Linked DNA regions of Homo sapiens: region 2 is linked to region 1. Evidence: promoter capture Hi-C in 16 types of primary human blood cells and fetal thymus (Javierre and others, 2016). All regions are on one chromosome and are shown on one strand. The core of a region is centred on a gene start or on the middle of the fragment in contact, and the rest is flanking DNA. Distances in the headings are between cores, read along the strand shown. Region 1 holds the start of DCHS1 (dachsous cadherin-related 1). Region 2 overlaps RRP8 (ribosomal RNA processing 8).

Evidence for each region. The method cuts DNA at HindIII sites, captures the fragments that hold promoters and counts their contacts. A CHiCAGO score of 5 or more calls a contact.
Region 2: a fragment that was not itself captured here is called in contact with the fragment with the promoter of DCHS1 in region 1 in 4 of 17 cell types (non-activated CD4 T cells, activated CD4 T cells, total CD8 T cells and 1 more); the score reaches 7.6 in non-activated CD4 T cells.

Annotation. Positions count from the first base shown.
Region 1 is chr11:6,653,060-6,657,174 of GRCh38, forward strand. DCHS1 (dachsous cadherin-related 1) reads right to left here and starts at 2,750. Exons shown (of 21, transcript NM_003737.4): 1 at 2,504-2,750. The HindIII fragment of the contact is 4,247 bases long and covers 1-4,115 here.
Region 2 is chr11:6,595,127-6,599,720 of GRCh38, forward strand. It overlaps RRP8 (ribosomal RNA processing 8), which reads right to left. Exons shown (of 7, transcript NM_015324.4): 7 at 1-4,594. Among named protein-coding and RNA genes, the nearest start is that of RRP8, 6.2 kb to the right of the region's middle. RefSeq lists a silencer at 3,453-3,747. The HindIII fragment of the contact is 4,041 bases long and covers 1,185-4,594 here.

The DNA of each region.
Region 1 (4,115 bases), core at 1,500-3,999:
TGGTGACTCTCCATTATTCTTGGGTTAAATGAATTTCTTTCTGTGGCCTCCTAGACCCTGCATGGTCTAAGCCTCCATTTACCTCTCCCACAGACTCTCCCTCTCTCGTCACCTCATGCTGTAAGTGTCAGGCTCACTGAACTGCTTTATCCCTCACACACACACTATTTTCCTTCATGTGGGCTTTTACATGCTGCTCCCTTGGCTTGGCATATTCTCCACCCACTCCATCAAGTTTAAGTTTAAATGCCACTTCCTCCAGAAAGACTCTTCTGACCTCCCTACACTGGCCTAGGTTACTCTGCTGTGTGCTGCTGTGTTACAACACTCACTCCACAGCCTGTAAGCTCCATGAGGATAAGGACCATGTCCATTTTGTTCACACTTGTGCTGCCAACTCTCATCACAATGCCTAGCAGAGTAGGTGCCTAGTATGTGTTTGTTAAATGAATGAATTAGCGTTTTGATTAATTAATCTACTGAAAACAATGGTGTGAGGGATGTGGGGTAATGAGTGTGAAGAAAATAGAAAAAAAATCATCTATTTATTTATGAAGGGCCCAGTTGAGGTTTGAATTTTTTAGAAGTATGAATTTATAGAAGCGTCCCCTGGTGTGGTTGAGAAATCATTCTAGTTAGGGGCAATAATTTGAGGGATGAGTATAGAAGACAAGGAAACACAGTGGCCAAGGAGTGGTTGAAGGGATGATCCTTAGCATATGAGCTGGAAAGAAAGCACAAAGTCAGAAAGGAACAGAGTAGGAGAAAACAAAGAGGTCAAGGGCAAGAGGTCATTATGAGGTCAAAGAGTGTAATGGGAGCGAGAACATCTGAAAGCTGGAAGGATATAGGAGGTTGTGGGTAGAGAGAGGAATGCAAGAGTTTAGAATTTTAAAGGTGGAATAGTTCTACAGAGTGGTCCTGGGAGGGAGGAAGGTAACAGGAGCTAAGGAGGTCAAGAATCTGTGAAGCTGTGGTGTTGAAGGACACTGAGAAACCATGGCAGGATACACTATCCAGATCTCGAAGTTTTCAGGGAACAAGAGGGTATACCTGGGAGATCTACGTATGAGAAGGGGTGAAGGTGTGAGCTTGATAAGTTAAGCAGAGTTTATTCAGAAGTTGGGACAGGTCTTCCTGTGGTGTGCATGCCATCCATGACTGTCTCCTGGGGGTTGTACAAGTGGCTGTGTGGTAAGGGCAACTGTGGCACAGCCTCCTGTTAGTGACAGGCTTCTAGGACACCCACTATGTATGGGCAGCTCCAAGGAAGTAAACCTAATAAGATGTGCTGTGACAGTTGTGACAGTGCTTCTGATGGATGTGGATTGCAGTGACAATGTCTCCTGAGAGGTGCTGGTCTACTTGTTTGTTGCTGGTGACAGTGTTTCTGGAGAGTGTTAGCAGTAACAATGTCTTCCATGGTATGTGTTGGCCTTGACAATGAACCGGTGGGAGTATGTTGGTTGCAGCATTTCTCCTGTGGGTGTGTGTTGTCATGAGAGCATTTTCCGTAGGTGTGTGTTGGCTTGATAGAGTCTGCTGTAGGTGTGTGTTGGTTCTGACTGGGGGTGCTTCCTGGGGGTGGGCTTCCTGGAAGTGTATGATGGCTGTGAGGGTATCTCTTGAGGATGTGTGTTCCCTGGGACTGTGTCCTCTTGTGGGTTGAGTAGGGCTATGACTGTGTCCCTATGGGTATTTGAGAAGTTGACATAAGCGACAATATTTTTCTGGCCTATGACCTTGTGGCTGTGGGCCCAGCCCGCCACACTGAGTTCATTGTGCTTCTAGACCTCCCTCTCCCCACCCCCTCCACGTGGGACCCACGCCTGCGGTGACCTTGCTCTGTCCCCTGCACGGGATTCTGAGCTGGGTATCCCAGACACAAACTCCCAGTTGCTCCAATCTCCCACTCAGAACACGTCTGGGTGACCCCCCCCTCCATCCACTTCAGGCTGTGCCTGCCTCTCCTCTGCTTCTCTGTACTTCTCCCCACTCAGTTTCTTTGTCTCTGTCTCAGTTGGTCTCTGTCACACACCCATCCTCCACATTCTGACACATGGGCTCCCACAGAGCGGGCAACACACCCTCACAGGGACTCGCTCACCATGACACACGGTCATTCTGACCCTCACACCCTCAGAGTGACACGCACATGCACACACAGCCAGAGAGACGCCCAGGGACACACAACCTCCCAGTGACACGCACTGACACACTCCGACGATGCACTGGAACACAACGCTGTCGCACCCCACACCCCCGGCGCACGCTCCCGCCGCCACCCTCCCCGACTCGATGACACACGCACACAAAGACCCCCAGGCCCTGCCCCCACGCTCACGTTCACGCCCGCCCGGGTCCCGCAGGCCCAGGCCCCCCCTCCCCCATTGTCTCCGGCTCAGAACAAAGCCCCCGGCTCCGCCGCCGCTGCCGCAGCCCAGGGGAGGCCGGCGGGCAGGGCGGGCGCGGCCAGACGGGCCGGGCGGGCGCGGGCACTGACCTCCGCGCGACGCGGGCTCCCTCGCCCGGTGCTGGGGCGCCGTCCGGCCGCGGTCAGCCCCCCGGGCAGCGCCCGCTCGCGCGGGGCCTGAGGCCGCGCATCGTCCGCAGTCGCTGTCTCCGAGGCCCGCGATCCCCTCCGGGCAGCCGCCGTCGGTCCGCGCGCCCTTGGCCGTCGATCGGTCCGTCCGCTGACGCCCGGGCGCCGCCTCCTGCACAGCCGCCCCGCCGAGGATGCGAGCTCCGCTGCCGCGGCCCCGCGCCCCCTCCCCTCCCCTCCCCCCGCCCTCCGCGCGGTAACCCGAGCCCCCGCCCCTCCGCCCGCGGAGCCCCCGCCCCCGCCCCCACCCGCGCTCCGCGCCGCCGCCCCCCCTTCCCCCCGGCGCCCGCCCGGCCTCCCTCCGCCCCTCCACTTCCCGGCCCCAGGCCCCGGCTCCGGATCCGGCCCCAGCGCCGCGCCGCGCCCCCGTCCCGGTTCCCTTCCCTTCTCCCCGTCACTTCTCCCGTCCTCTCCTCCCATTCGGTTCTCTACGCCCTCTCGTCTCTTCCCCTTCTCGCCGCTCCCTGCTGCTCACCTCCTCCTCTTCCATCTTCTTTCCATCCCCTATTCCCCTCTTCTCCCTCAGTGCCCTGGTCTCCCTCTCGCCCCTTCTTTTTCCCAACCGTCATCTCCATTCCCCTCTGCCTTTCTCCCATCCTCTTCTTCTCGCCCCATCTCCATCATTTTCTCCCCAGCTCTTCTCCCCTTTCTCTTCTCCTTACCCCTTCTGCTTGATCTCTCTCCAGCCTCTTTACATCAGATTCTCCTTCCCCACCTCTCCTTTTATCCTTTTCTTCCTATCCCTTTCTCCCCGTCTCTTCTCCCCACCTTTCTCCCCATCCCCTTCTCCCTGTGTCTTTCGCCTCACCTCATCATCCCCTTTTCCTCACGCCTTCTCCTCATTCCCTTTTCTCACCCCTGCCCTTTTCACTACCCGCTGTCTCTTCCCCTTCTTCCATCGTAACCTCGGCCTTCTCCCCTGTTAGTCACTTTTCATTATCCCATGATTTCTGTCTCTTTTCTCTCCTTCACCCCCAGGCTCCCTTTCCCCCACTTTCTCTTTATCCCAAATTTGAGGGTAGAGATCGGGAGATATTGGAAAGAAGAGCTTTGGGGATGGTGGTCCCACTCACGATATACTCCCTAGAAAAATTAAGTGAGGAGGAAACCGGGCAGGGAAGTGGGAAGGGGCTCAAAAAACCAACTTGGGAGAGAATATGGGGAGAGGGGAAATCAGACAGAGACAAAGAGCAAGCAATCTTAAAGGAACTGGGAAGAGTTCTGACTCCTGTCCTTCTTCCTTAGGACTGCGAGTAGACTGTGAGAAAAACAGGTTTTCTGGACTTGAGATGTGTACAAATGGCACAAAGAAATCAGGAACTTCTGTGGAGAAGGAACACAGTTTCAGCTGAAGAAGAAGGGAGTGTGATTTTGGAAGAGGAGTGAGGGAGAGACTGGGGTCCTTGATCATATCCACGGCGCTTGGGCAGCTGGGTGGATGGATGGTGGTGAGGCTGGCTGTGCTCCACAAAAGGAGCAGCAGGAGGCTGCAGGGGGTTCGTATGAGGAGATG
Region 2 (4,594 bases), core at 1,955-4,454, 57 kb before region 1:
CAGTGGCACAATCATAGCTCACTACAGCCTGAAATTCCTGGGCTCAAGCAATCCTCCCACCTCAGCCTTCCTAGTAGCTGGGATCACAGATAAGAGCCACTGCACTTGGCCCAAAAACATATTTAAAATGTTAATACTTTAGATTGGTTTCAGTCATGTTATAGGGAATAATGGAACGTATTTATACCAGAGTATTAACAATGTAGAAGGACCCTTGAAACGAAGCCAAAAAGATAGGGGCTGTGGCAATTAAGGAGACTTCCAAGAAGTCTAATACTAAGTAGGGCATCCCTGCTTAATCAATAACACTTCATTTCGTGACCATGAGACAAGAAAACTACAGAGACCTCATCCCTAACATCCTTCAGCTCCAGAACCAATGCCAAATCACCTAACTCCAGGTTATATGACAAAAAAAAACATCTGTTTAGGACATTCTTTAGTGGGATTTGTTTTTCCGGTCACAGTCACAATGACGGATTTAAAAAAAAAAGAGTATCTCAACTTCCTATTGGGAGTACATGTTTTCCCCTGATTTTAAACTCATGGGACAAAAAGAAAGTGTTGACTGGCATCTGGCAAGATAATTAAATATCTGAAACACCCTGAAGGAAACAAAGAGGGTACTGTGGTCAAGAGTAAGGTGGACAGGATACCATAGAAGATATATCCAGTGTATATAATGATAACTGCTAAAACACCCTCAAAACTCACTAGCAGAATGTAATCAAGTTTATTTTCTTGTTCAAAGTCCAATATGGATGTTTTTGGTCAAGTAGCTATTATGCCCTAAATAGTAACTCAGGTATTCAGACTTCTTCTATGCTATGACTCCATCACCGTCAAAACATGTGCTTCAAGGTTACCTTGAAGAGGAAGGAGGAAGAGAATAATGGAAATGGCTCAGCCACCCTTTAACTGCCTTGGTCTAGTATTGAAACATCACTTCCACTCATTTTCCACTGTTGAGAACTACTCACATAGGCCTAGATGCATGGAGCTGGGAAATGCAGTTTACCTGTGTCCAGAAAGAGGACATTTGGGTGAGCATCTGGCCAGTTTCTTCCACAGAAGCAAAGGTAATAGTGGTATGAATTCAGGAAGATGAAAATGAGCTCACTGGGGAAAGAGTATTCAAGGAAGATGGAGCATGTGCAAAGACTCTCAGTAGAAACAGTTTGGAAAGCTTGAGGAATAAAAAGCAAGTCTGTGTGGCTGGAGTTTTGTGAAAGGGGAGGAGTGGGTTAAGATGCAGATGGTGATGGTGACGGAGGCCTGGGCAAGATCACACGGGGCCTGAAAAGTTTGTCTTTTGTTCTCGAGGCAGTGAGAATCCATTGAAGGATTTTAAGCAGAGAAGTGACATAAGCTGATTTACATTTTAAAAAGATCACATGGCTGTGTGGAAAATTAATTGCTTTAGGGACACGAGTAGAAGCAATTAGACCACCAGTAAGGCAGTTACTGCAGGAGTTGGGTATCCTAAAACCAGATGGCTGGTCAGAGAATTCACCTGGGAAGGAGGATGACCAGGGGATGAAAGGTTCTAATTACTGGTCTCTGTGAAAAGCTGTAGAGAGTTTTGTGCAGTTACATAAATGGTTGGGTTTGGAGCTGAGCGGTGTCTCTGCCAAGATCATGTTGTTTCTTTTAGAACTGTGTTCCCTTAGGACTGGACTATATTATGGGAACAGAAGCTGGAGCACACCAATAACTGCAGAAGCAGTAACTATTTATTTGGAGAACTCTCAAAGGGATGCTGAACAAGCATGAGGCACGGATAACCAAACCCAATTTTATTCTTGTCTCTTACCACCCTCCAAATTTTATTCACTGGGAGGTACTCTCCCTGCTATGGAGAAAAGCTGCAGCGAGGTTGTGATGTTCTTAATAGATAGTCCTGTGATCAGTTTAAGGAACAAACATAATCTCAATTAATTAGAATGTCTAATCCTGTGTAACAATAATCTGCACCTGTTGCAGTTTTAAATCCCTTTTTCCTCTCCCAGCTCTGCCCCAGCTAAGTCTAGGAGCCTGCACTGGGAAAGGGAGGAGTGATTGGTATGCTCTTCCCTCTGCTCGGCTCCTCTCTACCTAATCACTGCTGATTGCTCTGGGCCCAAGTGATGAGGAGAGGTAAACAGATAAATCATTTTGCCCTGACTGGGTATTTCTATGCACTGTGGGCCTGGAAGATATTTCCTCTCCCCTATTCTCACTCTCAAATGATAAACTGGCTTCCTGCTCCCCTGAAAAAAAATCAAAGCAATCAGAAATGAACTTCTGGGGCCCTATCAGGAACTCTGGAAGAGGGCTTTCATAATGGAGCAACCTCTTACCACTGCCATTTACCTCAAACAGGCCCTCCACATTACTCAGCAATCCTTACCCCACTGCATTCTGAGTTCTCTCTCATCTCAATAGCACTCGACAGCTAACAACCTGCCCATCCTCCCATAAAAAAAAAAAAAAAAAAAACACTGGCTGGGCACAGTGGCTCATGCCTGTAATCCCAGCACTTTGGGAGGCCGAGGCAGGCCGATCACTCGAGGTCAGGAGTTCGAGACCAGCCTGGCCAACATGGTGAAACCCCGTCACTACTAAAAATACAAAAATTAGCTGGGCGTGGTGGCATGTGCCTGTATTCCCAGCTACTCGGGAGTCTGAGGCAGGAGAAGTGCTTGAACCAGCAGGCAGAGGTTTCAGTGACCTGAGATCACGCCACCGCATTCCAGCCTGGGCCACAGAGCAAGACTCTGTCTTAAAAAAAAAAAAAAAAAAAAATTAACTCTCCTGGTTTTACTCCTACATCTCTGGGTGAACCTTCTCCTCTTCCATCACCTTCACTGCTTCATTTTCCTTTACCCATCCATGACATGCTCCTCAGTTCTATTCTGAGCCATTTTCTCTTCTCATTATCTTACCCTGAATATCTCATCTATTCTGACTTTAATTACCACCTCTAGGCTGCTGATTCCCAGACCCCCAGCACAGATTTCACGCATGTCCCACTTCCTAAAATCCAACACTTTGAATGGCATCACCAGCCTACCCACAGTTGAGCAACCTGGAACTTACTTCAGATTCCTCTCTTACCAACCTCAACATCCCACCAATTCTACCTAATGAAGTTCTCCTGTCTGCCTACTTCTTCCATCATGACTAGTCAACAGTGCCCTCATCTTGTGCCCTAGTACCTGGGTTTCTATAACACCCCTGTTCTCATCTATCCCACTCAACTGGACCCTGTCATTCCTTATCTCTCCCTAGGTGAATAAGTACACTGGCTATATCTCAAATGACAAGCTCCGGGAATACAAAGATAAACATGGCTTGAGAAAACAGCAGCCAAATGCACAAAGGAATCACAATGCAATATTTAGAAGCTGAAGTAGCACTCTTCACATAGTACTTTGAGAGTACAGATGAAGAACTGATTTTGCTTTGGGAGTAGAATAGGAAACAACTAGGCTGTTCGGAAAGATGAGCAAACTGCCAGTCCGATGAATATCCAGCAGAAAGAACAGTACGTGTAGAGGCACTGTGTAGTGCCTGCCTAATGATTCACAGCCCAGCCTCCAAACATGCCCTCTGGACTACAGCCTGTTTCAAAACCTCCATCCCCTTATTAGAGGCATCCAACTGGCTCAGGGCATAGAACCTATGATCTCCCAATGGGTACTGTCAGGTATTCCTGGAAACAAGTACAAGAGGCCATATCTTTATACCTGGGCACATGGCAGATACCTTTTGGGGGAGGCCTAGAATCTATCATTCAAACTCACCTTCCCTCAGCACCTTGCCTATAGCTTTCCCAGGACATGCTGATCTGAGTCCACTGCAAGGCAGAGATAGTGGACAGACTCTTCCGCCAATGAACAGCCCAATGCCCCCAAGCCCACATGGCATCAACAAGTTGTTTATGAACAGAGACCCAGCTCCCTCACTACCCCTCCAAGGACAGAAGCTCAGAATCTATTAAAAGTCATTAAATAGCCTATGAAGCAGGCCTGTTGAAAGGTCTAGCCTCTCCCAGAGGCTTCCTTAGTCAACAAATCCATTCTTTACCCCTCAGCCTCCAACCAGCCTAGGGAAGATCTTCAAAAAACAATAAGGCTTACAACACATAATAGTCATAGCTAGTTTACTGAGCACCTCCTATGTTCCCAGCCCTGGCTACAGATTTCTCCAGTTAACCCACACAACCACCCTGCAAGACAAAAATTCTACCATTTTCCAAATGAGGAATGTGATATACAGAGATTAAATGACTTTAAGTGCCTCTGGGTAGCAGGCCAAGAATTAAATCCAGGTCTACCTGATTCCAAAATCTGTGCTCTCAGCTATATACATCCCAAAGTCCCACAGGACAATAGGTGTTGGGAGTGGCTTGATGCTATATGGTTCCAAAAATGGAGATGAGGGGAGAGGGGAAAGATAAACCACTAGAAATGCTCGGTATGGGGACAACCAAACAGTCTCAAGTTGGTGGCTCAGACTGATGTCTTGAGCCAAGATGTTGGTGGACAACCAGTTGCCTCAGAGTCAAACAGCAACAGCTGCCTGTCTGCAACCTTGAAGGCCTGGGCAAACT